2 separate regions of the Homo sapiens genome follow, and region 2 is linked to region 1. Evidence: promoter capture Hi-C in human tissues and cell types (Jung and others, 2019). All regions are on one chromosome and are shown on one strand. The core of a region is centred on a gene start or on the middle of the fragment in contact, and the rest is flanking DNA. Distances in the headings are between cores, read along the strand shown. Region 1 holds the start of MRPL9 (mitochondrial ribosomal protein L9). Region 2 holds the start of THEM5 (thioesterase superfamily member 5).

Region 1 (6,866 bases), core at 122-2,621:
CTTGACTTAAAATAGGGTTATGTCCTGATAAACCCATCGTATGTTGAAAGTATCATAAGTTGAAAATGCATATAATACACCTACCAAACACCATAGCTTAGCCTAGCCTATCTTAAACATGCTCAGACAACTTATCCGACAGTTGGGTAAAATCATCTAACACAAAGCCTATTTTATAATAAAGTGTTGAATATTTCATGTAACTTATTGATGTCCTACTGAGTGCACATCACTTTCACACCATCACAAACTCAAAAATTGTAAATCCAAGTCAGGGACTATCTGTAATTTAAAGGTAGAACCCACAGGATTTCCTGATGGAGTATGAGAGAAAAGAGTTAGAATGGAAAGAATGGAGTTTCTGTCAACTGAGAGGAAAAAGGCTGCAGATGGGGCAGTTTTGGGGGCGAGGGGGGAATAAATAAATTAGTTTGGGACAGTTAACTTTGAGGTGTCCTTTGGATACGTAAGAGGAAAATGACGAATAAACAGTTGAATATTTGAGACGAGTTTGGGAGATGTCTAGGATGGAACTAGAAATTTGGGAGTCATTGGCTTATAAATGGTATTGTAAGCCACGAGACTGGATGAGATCAACAGTGAGTGTATACTGAGAAGAGTAAAGGTTCAAAAACGGAGTCCCGAGGGCATTCTAAGAAGCGGGGAGAAAAGGAGAAATCAGCAAACGAGACTGAAGAAGACCGGTGTCCAGGAGGCCAAGTAGTGTATTTAGGAGGAAGGAGGACTGGTCAGTATGTTTAAGGGCCAGTCTTTCCATAATCTCTGCCAAATGGACCTTCTTTCATCCAGTTTTTATGGTCTTCTGTCCAGTACTGAGACCCTCCCCAGAGGGAACTGTCGCGGCCTTACCATAGTTGCTTTTTTTTCTACGGTTTACATAGCTTGTGATTTAGAATTCTCCTTTATTAGCTTAAATACTGCAGTATAATGATTAAGGGTCAGGCTCCTCCTGGAGCTGGCAGAGTTTTCCAAGGGATCCCATCCTTTACCACTTTTAGGTAGATTTGAAGTAAGGAAAAGTGAGAGCATCATTCATTCTCCGGTCAGTATCCAGTCATCACAGAACGTTAGAATTAAAAGTTAGCCCAGCAACTGGAGCTACAGCAAAGCCCACACTTTCAAGAGGAAGAGCGTCTTTTCCGGCGTCAGTCCACCTAACACTCATTCCATTATCAGTCAGTAATTCTAGGCGTCCGTCACCTCTGCCAAAAAGCAAAAATAGGCAAGCCGCGGTGCCATCTGTTCCCCGGCCCGCTCCCCATACTTTCGCTCAGCCGTACCGGCGCGCCGCAGGCAGCACTGGCGGGGGCCTTTCCTGCCGCCGACGCCGGGGTCCTCCCTCAGGTCTCATTCTGTGCCTGTGAACATGGCGGCGCCCGTTGTCACGGCCCCGGGCAGAGCTCTGCTGCGGGCGGGCGCTGGACGGCTGCTTCGGGGAGGCGTCCAGGAGCTACTGCGGCCGCGACATGAAGGGAACGCCCCTGACCTGGCCTGCAACTTCAGCCTTTCTCAAAATCGGGTGAGGGCTGAGTCTGGGGTAGGGGGTAGATACGCTCGAGTATTGTTTCTGGAGGCGCACTGGGACCTGGAGGGGGCCGATGTGGGGGTGGCGGGCTTTCCTTGAGGGGCTGGCGGCCGTGGTGGAGGGAGAGGGTGTTCCTTGTGGAGACTAGCTTACCGTCGCTTTCCTGGCCGCCAGGGCACGGTCATCGTGGAGCGCTGGTGGAAGGTACCGCTGGCCGGGGAGGGCCGGAAGCCGCGCCTGCACCGGCGACATCGCGTCTATAAGCTGGTGGAGGACACGAAGCATCGGCCCAAAGAAAACCTGGAGCTCATCCTGACGCAGTCGGTGGAGAGTAAGGCCCGGGCCGAGGCGCTTCCTCTCAGGCTGGTCCGGTTTGGCATCAGCTTTTTCTAGCCCGTCCCCCTCAACTATTTGCCTTGCTTTTTCTTTGTGGAAACAATCCAACTCTATATGTGAGAAGAGGAAGCCATAAAAACTATTGTGATTGTGACACTGGCCTCCAGCATTGAAAATTAAAACATAAAGGCAGCAACATCATTAACAGTGTGTGGGGAGAGGAGCCTGACAATTTGTGCCACAGATACTGAAATCCTCCATGGGACGACAACTCCCTCTATACAGGGGATATTAAATTTATACATCAAGTTCTAAAGAAACTAATTAGCAGTCTCTTAAATCTTGTTCCTAGTGAATATGAATTAGCATTTCTTTTAGGAAAAATAAGCACTGTGAGAAACTAAGAGGTGCTTCTCTTTTTGACATCTTTTCTTTAGGGACTCCTAGATGGTTCTAATTCCCCTGTCTCTGTTCTAATTGACAGATGTTGGAGTCCGGGGTGACCTGGTCTCAGTGAAGAAATCTTTAGGCCGGAATCGACTCCTTCCTCAGGGACTGGCTGTATATGCATCCCCTGAAAACAAGAAGCTGTTTGAAGAGGAGAAATTGGTGAGCTCAAAGGAAGGACAGAGAGACTTGGGGAGATAAAACTTCTTTTCTCTTGCAGCTTCCTTCCCTTTGACATTTAACTTAACTTGAAAATGAAATAGGAACTAGAAGAACAGGAATGCAGAAGCCCAGCCAATGTCCAACATAGGAATAGTTTGATGCTATTTAACATGGGCTCATTTTTCTTTTACTGCTTTTCATCTTTAACTTTCTTTTCTAGCTGAGACAAGAAGGAAAATTAGAGAAGATCCAGACCAAGGCAGGTGAGGCGGTGAGTAGAAACATAAAAAGTGTTTATTTGTCACAAGACTTACCAACCTCACCCTGAGAGTCTCCCTGATTCCCTTGAGGTCTCCTGATTGCAGACCCAAGAGTGGGAGAAAGGGGAAGTGTTGTGGCTGCCCCACAAAACAGGTATGGAGACCTCTTGGGAGATCCCTGATGTGTTGGGTGAAGTGCCTTAAAGTACCAAGGGAGGTCCCAATCTGGGAATCAGGGAACCCATGGAATAGTCTGAGATGAGGGCTCTGCCTTCAAGGATATTTACGTACAAGTTGGAGAGAACATGGACACATGAGAAGATAATCAGTACAGGCACCCGCCACCATGCCCGGCTAACTGTTGTATTTTTGGTAGAGACAGGGTTTCGCCATGTTGGCCAGGCTGGTTTCAAACTCCTGGGCTGAAGTGACCCACTTTGGGAGACCCACCTTGGCCTCCCAAAGTGCTGGGATTACAGGCATGAGCCATCTTGCTTGGCTTGCATACCCTGTGACCCTGACATGTTTCCTCTCCTTTGACTCAAACTCATAATTCCTTTCAGACAGTGAAATTTCTAAAAAGCTGTCGCCTGGAGGTAGGGATGAAGAACAATGTCAAATGGGAGCTGAACCCTGAAATAGTTGCCCGCCACTTCTTTAAGAATGTGAGTGAGTGTTCCCAAAAACCACTCTACCCCTGAGGTGGAAGCTGCCTCTGGAAAGGAGGCCTGGGATTGATCCCTTTGTTAGGAAGGGGTGTGATCATCCAGTTGTAGTTAAGGAAAGTATTCTTGGTTAGTTTGCAGGAATATGGGAAGGAAATGGCTAAGGACTAAGGATGGTCACATAGAATTTGAAGACTGATAGGAAAAGGTGGTGGTTTCCATTTATTTCCTGTCTACCTAGGGAAATGCTGGGGATTTGTGACTCACTGGAGAATTGTTACTTTTGTGGATGAAGTGGTTTTGGCCTCAAGCCCTGTTTCTCTTTGTGAATCTACCTCCCTTTCTGAGAAATCAGAATTGAATTTCTCTACTACCGTCTATGAAGGTGTATGCCCTTCTCTCCCATGGAATCAGCCAGAGTAGACACCCCAGTTTTATTCATCCCTGTGCAGGGAATCCTGTAACCCTCTTTATGAGGTTCCCTAGAGTGGCAGTCATGAAAACAGAGTTCATTTGAGCTGAGATTTTTTTTTTTTTTTTTTTTTTTGCAGCTTGGTGTTGTGGTTGCCCCACATACATTAAAGTTACCAGAAGAGCCTATCACACGGTGGGGCGAGTATTGGTGTGAGGTGACGGTGAGTGTTTTGCATACTTTCTTTTTTCTTTTCTTTCTCCTTTTCCCCCACTTTTTCCTTTTTTTCCTTTCTCTTAAAGACAGGGTTTTGTTTCATTGCCCAGGCTGGATTCAAACTCCTGGGTTCAAGCGATCCTCCCACCTCAGCCTCCCAAGTAGCTAGGACTACAGGCGTTAGCCACCGCACCTAGCACCTACCTCTCCCTTTTTTCTAATTTTTTTTTTTTTTTTTTTTTTTTTGAGCTGGAGTCTCACTCTGTTGCCCAGACTGGAGTGCAGTGGCACGATCTCAGCTCACTGCAACCTCCACCTCCCAGGTTCAAGCGATCCTTCTGCCTCAGTCCCCCTAGTAGCTGGGATTACAGGCACACGCCACCGTGCCTGGCTAATTTTTGTATTTTAGTAGAGACAGGGTTTCCCCATGTTGGCCAGGCTGGTCTCAAACTCCTGACCTCAGGTGATCCACCTGCCTCAGCCTCCCAAAGTGCTGGGATTACAGGCATAAGCCACTGTGCCCAGCCCTAGCTCTCCTTTTTCTGACTGGGAGAAAAGTCAGGGTGAAAAGCTGGGATTAGGTGGTGCTAAATCTTACTTACCTGACTGATCTCTGAGAATTCCCATTGTTTTGTGTGCAGGTAAATGGGCTTGATACTGTGAGAGTGCCTATGTCTGTCGTGAACTTTGAGAAGCCCAAGACCAAAAGATATAAGTACTGGTTAGCCCAGCAAGCTGCCAAGGCTATGGCCCCCACCAGCCCCCAGATCTAAATCTACTCTCCCTCCAAGGCAGCAAAGCAGAATCGGGAGCAGTGGAGCAGAAATGTGCAAGCACCCTGATCTCACTCCCAGCTCTGACCAAATACAGAATTTTAGAGAACATCTGAAGACATCAGACTGCACTGCGTATACATGTTGAATTCTTCATTTTTGCCATCTTTAACTGTCATCACTGGGGCAGGGAAGTCCTGTTCCAGAAGTACCAGGCTGTAGATTTGATAAGCTAGATGCAGTAGACCGAAACCATCCAAAACCTGTTTAGCTTCTTCCTCCATTGGAGTTTATTGGGACAAACAGGAGAGCCAGCCATTGTCTCCAGTACTTGCCTCATTCTCATCATCCAAACTGAACATTTGTATCCCAAGCAGAAATAAAGAGAATATGTTCTTTTTAAGTAAGTGTTGCTTACTGGTCTTGAGTAGATGAGACAGGACATCCAACTGAGATTTCCTTGAGTCACAGAGGTTTGCTGCTAAAAAGGAAAGAAGAGAATATCTTAGACTGCATCCCACAGTTACTGTGGTATGAACAAATTGTGCTGAACAAGTTGATGATGTGTTTGGTCTTAACACTTACTCTTCTTAGATACATTGATGTAGTCATCAATGTGAATAAGCACAATGGATTCTGCTTCTCTAAGACCTGAGTAAGGCCTAAGGGTAATTGTTGGAAAGCTGGGATGAAAGAAGCTTAAAAAGGGAACTTTTTTCCTTGAACCAGCTCCTGAAATTCTGAAAAAGAAGTTACCTTAATTTTCTAGACCAAGATTAAGATAGGGAGCTAGTCAAAAGGTAACTCTGGAATGGATGAATGGATGTCTTGATGGGAGATAAACGAAAGTAGATAGTTTTTTCCTTTTTCTTTTTCTTTTTTTTTTTTTTTTTTGAGACAGAGTCTTGCTCTGTCACCCAGGCTGGAGTGCAGTGGCATAATCTCAGCTCACTGCACCTCCGCCTCCCTGGTTCAAGTGATTCTCCTGCCTCAGCCTCCCGAGTAGCTGGGACTACAGGCATGTGCCACAGCACCCGGCTAATTTTTTATATTTTTAGTAGAGATGGGGTTTCACCATATTGACCAGGATGGTCTCAAACTCCTGACCTCATGATCCACCCTCCTCGGCCTCCCAAAGTGCTGGGATTACAGGCAGGCATGAGCCACCATGCCTGGCCTGAAAGTAGATAGTTTTCTGTAAGTTCAGAGTTTCATTAGTAGAAAAAAACATTCATTTTCAGGTGGATTGTGCCAAGGTCACTCAAATACAATGTGAGGTCATGCAGTTTAGGGTAGTAAAGATGGGATCATTGACTCCTTTGCTATCCATACCAGACATTGGTTTCTTTCCTATTTGAGCTCACCTACCACTCTGAGTCAGTTAAACACTTTCATCCCATCTCAGCTAATGAGAAAGTCTGTCATCAGTAGTTGCACTGATAACTATAGCCAACTTCATACTTGACAGAGCTCTGTAACTCAAGTGTGGCACTGGCACTATCTGAAATTTAGCATTTCTCCCCTCCCCACCCTTTTCTTTTCTTTTTTTTTTTTTTTTTTGAATGGGAAAATAACATTATTTCACATTAGGGAGTAGGCAGGCATCCAGACTCAGAACTGGAATTGCTTCTTGGTGGCATTGGGGACCATGAGCATGTTGAAGTGTACCATCTTGCTCATGCTGGTGCTTACCCAACCATGATGATGTTGCTGATCTGGACATCCCTGATGCAAGGGGATGGGTGCATGAACATGTTCTTGTGCTTCTTGAAGCAACTGTACTTACACATGTAGTGGAAATAGTCTTGGTGGATGATGTTGATCTTTTGCATCTTTTATCTTGGTCACCATGCCAGACAGGATCCACCCTCAGATGGAGATGTTACCAATAAAGGGCAATCAGTGTAAATATAGGTGCCCTCATAGCCTATTTGGGCATATTGAAGCCCAAACTGATTTTTTTTTTTTTTTTTTTTTTTTTTGAGATGGAGTTTCGCTCTTGTTGCCCAGGCTGGAGTGCAATGGCACGATCTTGGCTCACTGTAATCT
Region 2 (7,041 bases), core at 779-3,278, 90 kb before region 1:
TGGCAACCAACTCAAATATCTTTGCTTAGACCCAGAGGCTGAATCAACCAAAAAAACTTCCAGCTGGGCGTGGTGCCTCATGCCTGTAATCCCAGCACTTTGGGACGCTGAGGCAGGCAGATCAGCCAAGGCCAGGAGTTTGAGACCAGCCTGGCCAACATGATGAAACCCCGTCTCTACTAAAAATATAAAAACTAGCCGGGCGTAGTAGCAAGCGCCTGTAATCCCAGCTACTTGGGAGGCTGAGGCAGGAGAATTGCTTGAGCCTGGGAGGCAGAGGTTGCAGTGAGCCGAGATGGTGCCACTGCACTCCTGGGCAATAAGAGTGAGACTCTGACAAAATAACAACAACAAAAAAAAATGGTTCCCCCAGTCCTTGAGGAAGTTTAATTCAAACCTTTGCAGGAGGTGAGGGGAAATATTTATATTCTAGTCTTCTTCTAGGGCAACCAAATACAGAGGGTGAACCAAATCTTTTAAATTTCCGCATTAAATCAGTTTCATCTTTTGGAACCTGCCAAAATGTCATAATCATCACAACTATTATTATCGTCATCATCACTGTTATGATTCCACCTTTGCACAGTTCTGATTTTTTTTTTTTTAAGACAAGGTCTCACTCGGCCTCCCAAAATGCTGAGATTACAGCCTTGAGCCACTGCGCGAGGACTGATCTTTAGAACATGCTTTTATTTTAGTCAATTTAAAACTGAGACTTTTAATTGAAAATTGGCAGTTTAAATTCAATAGAAGACACACCACCACCAAATCCCACTGCCTTGCAGATGTTGGCTGAGTGTCCCTTCCCACTCAACAAAGCCTCACTGCCGCGCCCACCTCACTCCCAGCACTGCCTGCTGACATGAGCCACTCCCTGGGCACGGGGTTCCCAAAACATGAGAGTATCCCTGCCAAGCTGTTTCCTCCCAAATTATTTTCTGCCCTCCCTGTCAAGCCCTCCCCCACCTCCAACTCCTATCCCCAGCCAGAGACCAGCAGGTGAAACTCTCCTGTGCTAACCCTTGTCCGGGATATAAGAAGAGGTGTTGGCCGGGTGCGGTGGCTCACGCCTGTAATCCCAGCACTTTGGGAGGTCACCTGAGGTCAGGAGTTCAAGACCAGCCTGGCTAACATGGCAAAACCCCATCTCTACTAAAAAAAATATACAAAATTTAGCTGGGTGTGGTGGTGTGTGTCTGTAATCCCAGCTACTCAGGAGGCTGAGGCAGGAGAATCACTTGAACCCAGGAGGCGGAGGTTGCAGTGAGCCGAGATCACGCCATTGCACACCAGCCTGGGCGACAAGATTGAAACTCCGTCTCACCAAAAAAAAAAAAAAAAAAAAAAAAGAGGTGTCTAAGGCTGTGAGTTGGTTTTCTTTTTTTTTATTTTTTTATTTTTATTTTTTTGAGACGGAGTCTCGCTCAGTCGCCCAGGCTGGAGTGCGGTGGCTAGATCTCAGCTCACTGCAAGCTCCACCTCCCAGGTTCACGCCATTCTCCTGCCTCAGCCCCCTGCGTAGCTGGGACTACCGGCACCCGCCACCACGCCCGGCTAATTTTTTGTATTTTTTTTAGTAGAGACGGGGTTTCACCGTGTTAGCCAGGATGGTCTCGATCTCCTAACCTCGTAATCCGCCGCCTCGGCCTCCCAAAGTGCTGGGATTACAGGCGTGAGCCACCGCACCCGGCCTGTGAGTTGGTTTTCTGAGTCACAAAATCATACCAGAGTTTTCAGAGTCCGGTATACACTGCAGAGCACATACCAAGAACACTCCACCAGCACCCTCCAATCAAGGGACAGGCTTCCCTTATCCTTCTGGAAATATTCTTGGATTCTCCCTCAGAACCCCCAGGCAGCTCTCCAAGGCTCTATATACCCCATACTATTTGTTTATGTACTTGTTTACTCCTTTTGCAACTCAAGCCAGTCCTGCTGCCTTTTCATGCCCAAGCAGCATCTGTCCCTCCCCAAGCACTGGGTGGGGCTCCTAGACCAGCTAAAGGCGCCGAGCATCTGTGGGTGTTGCAGCACACCAGCCCAGCCTCGCCTAGCTCTCTGAAAGAAAGCCTGCAACAGAAGGGAGAGAAGCGGCCCCAAGTGCAGCTGAAAGCACTCCTTGGGAGTCAGCCAAGACCCTCCATCCAAGCAGGGCTGGATCCTTGCACTTGGCCATGATAAGGAGATGCTTCCAGGTGGCAGCAAGACTTGGCCACCACAGAGGCCTTCTTGAGGCCCCCCGTATCCTGCCCAGACTCAACCCTGCCTCAGCATTTGGATCCTCCACAGACTCCATGGTGAGTTCCCAGCTCAGCCAGATGGGCAGTGTTTTCCCAGGAGCCTAGGGCTTAAGGAGCACCCCAAATCTCCTCTTCCCAGCCCATGGCCAGGGCAGGTGGGCAGTGTTCGGAGGAGCTATTTGATTTGGCAAAGAGAAAGTGCTCTGGGATACCAAGTTGCCCCCATTCAAAACTAAAACTACCAGGAGACCTGCATCTGGCTCTGTGTCTTGTGTGGCCACCAACAAATGACTTTCCTCCTGTGGGACTCAGACTACTGCAGCAAAGCTGGGGTATCCCCAGACAGAGGACCCCATCTGTGGCATTGGCAAGCAGCTCACATGCTGTCTACAGTTGTGACTGGTGTATGAGCAGGTGACGCTACAGAGGACTTCCTTACGTCACACAGATGGGCACATAGTCTGTGCCCCAGCCATGGCACCACACCTCTGTGGGGGCCCAAATGTGTTTCAAAGGAGCCACCCTGCCCAGGCAGGCCCACAGCAGTGGGCAGAGCTGGAGTAGCCCCTGAGGTGGGGGTTGCTAGAATGGTCCTCAACAACTGTGACCCTGCCCTGCAGAGGAGACAGCATCTAGTGCGACCACCAGCTCTCACAGTCACATGCTTGGCAACCTTGGCCGTATTCCCTCAGTTTCCCCATCTGTACAGTGAGGCTAATATGAGCAGTTGTCAACTTTAAAGAACTGCTCACATGTTTTAAGCAGAACAAGGGTAAGGCACCACATCGAGCAGCATGCCCATCATCTCTGGCCCCACTCCCTGCCCGCCCTTCCCTTGCTCTTTAGCATCCTTATGCCCCGTCACCCATAGGGGTCCGCAGCCCCCCTGCAAGGAATATGGGCCCTTTCCCTTGGATCGATACTCTGGCAGAAGGGATTGAGAAGCCCCAGCACCCAGGAACAGCTGTTTAGAGGTCCCGAGCCCAGGCAGCAGCCCCCCTCCAGGATGCTGTCTAGTCATTCTGATTTTTCCTGCCCAGTTCTCAAGATTCTTGCCAGAGAAGACAGACTTGAAGGATTATGCTCTTCCCAATGCCAGCTGGTGTTCGGACATGCTGAGCCTGTACCAAGAATTTCTGGAGAAGACTAAGTCTAGCGGCTGGATCAAGCTGCCCTCCTTCAAGTCCAACAGAGACCACATCCGGGGACTCAAGCTCCCATCTGGACTGGCAGTTTCCTCAGGTAAGGACAGGACCATGAGTACACACACCCCAGCCGCCCTTCCCTGTGTTCTAAGACTGAGAAGCAACTTCACAGACCGCCTTCCAGTTCTCAGCGAGTTCTTCCTGCTGTCCAACTCCACCCCTGATGCTGCAGCCCCAGGCAACAGGCGGCGGGTGTCCTCTCAGGTCTCCAGCTCCCCTCCTCCCATCTGAAGCAGCACACCCTGGTGGGCCCACCTTCGCTCCCAGCCAAGCATGTCCCCACTGGAGGACAGCCAGCCCAGCTCCTGCCCCGACTTCTCACTGACTGCCCCTCCCTAACTATCAAGCCTCATCCCAAGCCTTCCGCCCCAACCCCATGAAAGCCCTTGGACCCCACACCCCTTCCACTGAGGCCCTGCACATCATCCCTGCTGTGCGGGGTCTGGAGCAGCACTCCTGAAACACCTAATGATCCTAATGGATCCTAATGATAGAGCTTCCACCTTCTTGTGTGTGTGTGTGCACTCGTGTGTGCACGCATGTGTATCTCCCTGTCTCTCTCACTCATATATGTTGTCTTCCTGCCTAGTGATGAAGGAGTGGTACAGGGGACAGACTACCCTTGGGTTTATGGCACAAACAAAGCAGGAATACCAACATAATTTTTTTTCAAAGAATTTGATACTTCCAAAAAAGGATGTAGTAGTGGTAGCTGTCTTGGAAAAAAAAAATCAGAACTTTGATGGACTTTTCTGCTCTTATTTTACTGTTTACTATTATTCTTTTGAATTATATGTGAGTTACATGAGTAATTACATTTTCAATTTTCAATGCTTATGGTCTCTTAAAGTCTTGCCCTGGCCCTGATCCTATCTCCATTCTCAGCCAGGGCACTTCCTGCATGTTTCTGCCCTAGACAGAAAGGCTCTGTGAGGACAGCAACTGTGCCTCTGCTCCCAGAGGGAAGGCTCCCTGGGGGTGGACCTGGTGTCCTCTGGTTTTCTCTCCTTAATCTTGTACCAGAGGCAAGACTCAACCAAATGGTGCTGCATCCTGACCATACCCTCCCTTCTCCGGCTGCAACACTGCCTATCTCTCCCCAGACAAAGGTGACTGTCGCATCTTCACCAGGTGCATCCAAGTGGAAGGACAAGGCTTTGAGTATGTCATCTTTTTCCAGCCAACCCAGAAGAAGTCGGTCTGTCTTTTCCAACCAGGCTCCTACCTGGAGGGGCCCCCAGGGTAAGGTCACTGGTAGGACCTTGGCTGCCTCCTGGGCTTGGCTCAGCAGGGCAGGTTCAGCACCCACCAGGCTGGCCCTGGAGTCTCTATCTTTCTCTAAGGGGTGAGGAAGGGAGTGTGGGGCACTAGGCTTCAGCCTCACAATACCAGGCCTGGAAGGACACACAGGGTTATCTGGCCTAATCCCCAGTGTGCAGATATGGGCTTCTCATCAAAGTCTCAAAATTTTCTGGACAAAAGACCTGAGAGGCCACTTTGAGAAGAATGTGGTACACTTGGAAGAGGGCAAGATCCGGAATCTAGACTCTGACTTGGTGTCCTGCCTGGCTGCTGCTGGCTGTGGGACTCTGAGCAAGCAATTGACCCCTGGTCTTTAGTCTTCTTACCTGAAACCTGGGGCAATAATATCTACCTGCCAGGGTGACCAGAGATATGATATTATGGGCCTATGTGTGCGTGCTCATGAACCGTAAAGCACAGTACAGCTATCAGACACTTCTACCCAAAACCCATGTTCTATCCATGGGGAAATGGAGATGCACACAGCTAAAGTAACTTGCCCGAGGCAGCACCAGCAATCAAAGTCAGATCCAGGACTCTAATCTGGGAGGTGAGATTCCAAGTCCACTGTTCTCTCCACTCTACTCTGCTGCCTCCAGACTTGGAACAGACCTCAGGAGGAATGCACACTGGGCATAAATGTGTCCACAAGGGAAATCAGGCTGACCGTGGGTCACCAAGTTCATGGTTGTCCCCCTTCTCTTCCATCCGGATGCCTGCTCCAGACAGTCACTGAAGGCTGGAGGTGGTGCTGGAGCTCCTGCAAGGGAGAGACAAGAGAGGGCAGGAGTGGCTTTAGGGTCCTGAAGCCTGAGAGGGGCTTAACTGGGGTTAAATAGAATCCAGAGTGCTAAATAGATGTCAGGGCCTCCAGAGGCTGTGGATGCCAACTGCAGCCCTCAGTCACCTTGGCCATCCCAAAGGAGTCCTCCACAGGGACACTGCTCCACACACTAGGCTGTGCAGATACTAGTGAATTGCTCAGAGCCCTGCCCAGGCCATGGACTCCCTCCTTTCTGAAGCATGGCTGACTTTTATTTAGGGGCTGATGGAAGTGAGGCCAAAGAGGCAGAGGAGGACCATCCAACACTAAGGCCAGTCAGTGGATTGAGGGGTTGGGGGTCTAGAGAAGAGATTAGTATCCACCAGGCCCCTAGACCATGGGGAGTGGGAAGGAGGAGTTACTCGTTGGCCAAGAGCTACTCTGTAGATCCACATACTGGCCAATGGGTCCCCAGGCTGGCCAGTGAGGACAAGGAGGAGAGAGTTGGTTTCGAGTTCTTTGACACCAACTCTTTTCACTCTCTTTCAAGCAATTTGGGAGGCAGACAGGGAAGTGCCTAAGAAGTGTGTAAATTATGTTTGCAAACATTTGTTTATTTAATCTGCTGAGATCAGAATTGTGAAATTCATGGTGGAAAAACTAAGGCTCAGAAAGGTTTAGCAATTTGCTCAAGATCAAACATGTAGTGAGCTGTGGGACAAGGAGTCCAACTGGGTGGATAGAGACTAAAGAAGCAGGGAGGGAAGGGTCTGGAAAAGCCACTGGTCACAGCAGCAGGAGGGTAACCCATGGCAGTACAGTGTGGACAGCTGATCTGGCTCTGTGGAGAATGGGCTGTGCTTTTGAAAATCAGGAACTCAAATCTGCTTGGTGTTATTTGAATTCTAAAATGGGTGCCTATTTTCCCAAATTAGCCAACCATGAAGTAGCTGACATAAAGCTTGCAAAAGCAAGAATGAACATTTTACGCTTTTTTTTTTTTTTTTAATTTTGAGACAGTCTTGATCTGTTGCCCAGGCTGGAATGCAGTGGCACAATCTCAGCTCACTGCAACCTCCACCCACCGGGTTCAATCGATTCTCATGTCTCAGCCTCTCGAGTAGCTGAGTTACAGGCGCTTGCCACCACACCCGTCTAATTTTTATATTTTTTAGTAGAGACGGAGTTTCACCATACTGGCCAAGCTGGTCTCGAACTCCTGACATCAAGTGATCTGCCCACCTCAGCCTCCCAAAGTGCTGGGATTACAGGCGTGAGCCACTGCGACTGGCCATTCTATGCATTCTAAATAAAGCAAATGTCTGCGGCATTTGAGCATTTCAGCTCAATTTCAGCATTGAGCCTGCTGAAGCAGGCGCTCTGCTTTCTGTGGCAACGCTGCTCAGAAGTGTGTCATGCCAGCCCTTGATAGGTCATAAGTTATGTTTCACATTTACTTATCTTGAGATGTGGGCCCCGCACTGGCTGTAGTGACTGGTAAGGTGAGAAACAGCCCAGGGTTGTGCCTCAA

The links. The method cuts DNA at HindIII sites, captures the fragments that hold promoters and counts their contacts. A contact is called where the count stands out against the background at its distance.
Region 2: the fragment with the promoter of THEM5 here is called in contact with the fragment with the promoter of MRPL9 in region 1 in 1 of the 25 tissues and cell types used here (small bowel).

The regions. Positions count from the first base shown.
Region 1 is chr1:151,758,001-151,764,866 of GRCh38, reverse strand. It overlaps MRPL9 (mitochondrial ribosomal protein L9), which reads left to right and starts at 1,371. Exons shown (of 7, transcript NM_031420.4): 1 at 1,371-1,540; 2 at 1,721-1,877; 3 at 2,367-2,491; 4 at 2,712-2,762; 5 at 3,315-3,416; 6 at 3,968-4,051; 7 at 4,686-5,220. The coding sequence starts at 1,388. The coding sequence ends at 4,817. It also overlaps the pseudogene RPS11P3 and a transcript of OAZ3 not described here. RefSeq lists an enhancer at 1,221-1,600. The HindIII fragment of the contact is 13,976 bases long and covers 1-6,866 here.
Region 2 is chr1:151,848,699-151,855,739 of GRCh38, reverse strand. It overlaps THEM5 (thioesterase superfamily member 5), which reads left to right and starts at 2,028. Exons shown (of 6, transcript NM_182578.4): 1 at 2,028-2,297; 2 at 3,281-3,482; 3 at 4,549-4,687. The coding sequence starts at 2,175. It overlaps C2CD4D-AS1 (C2CD4D and THEM5 antisense RNA 1), which reads right to left. Exons shown (of 4, transcript NR_152846.1): 4 at 4,205-5,507. The HindIII fragment of the contact is 11,981 bases long and covers 1-7,041 here.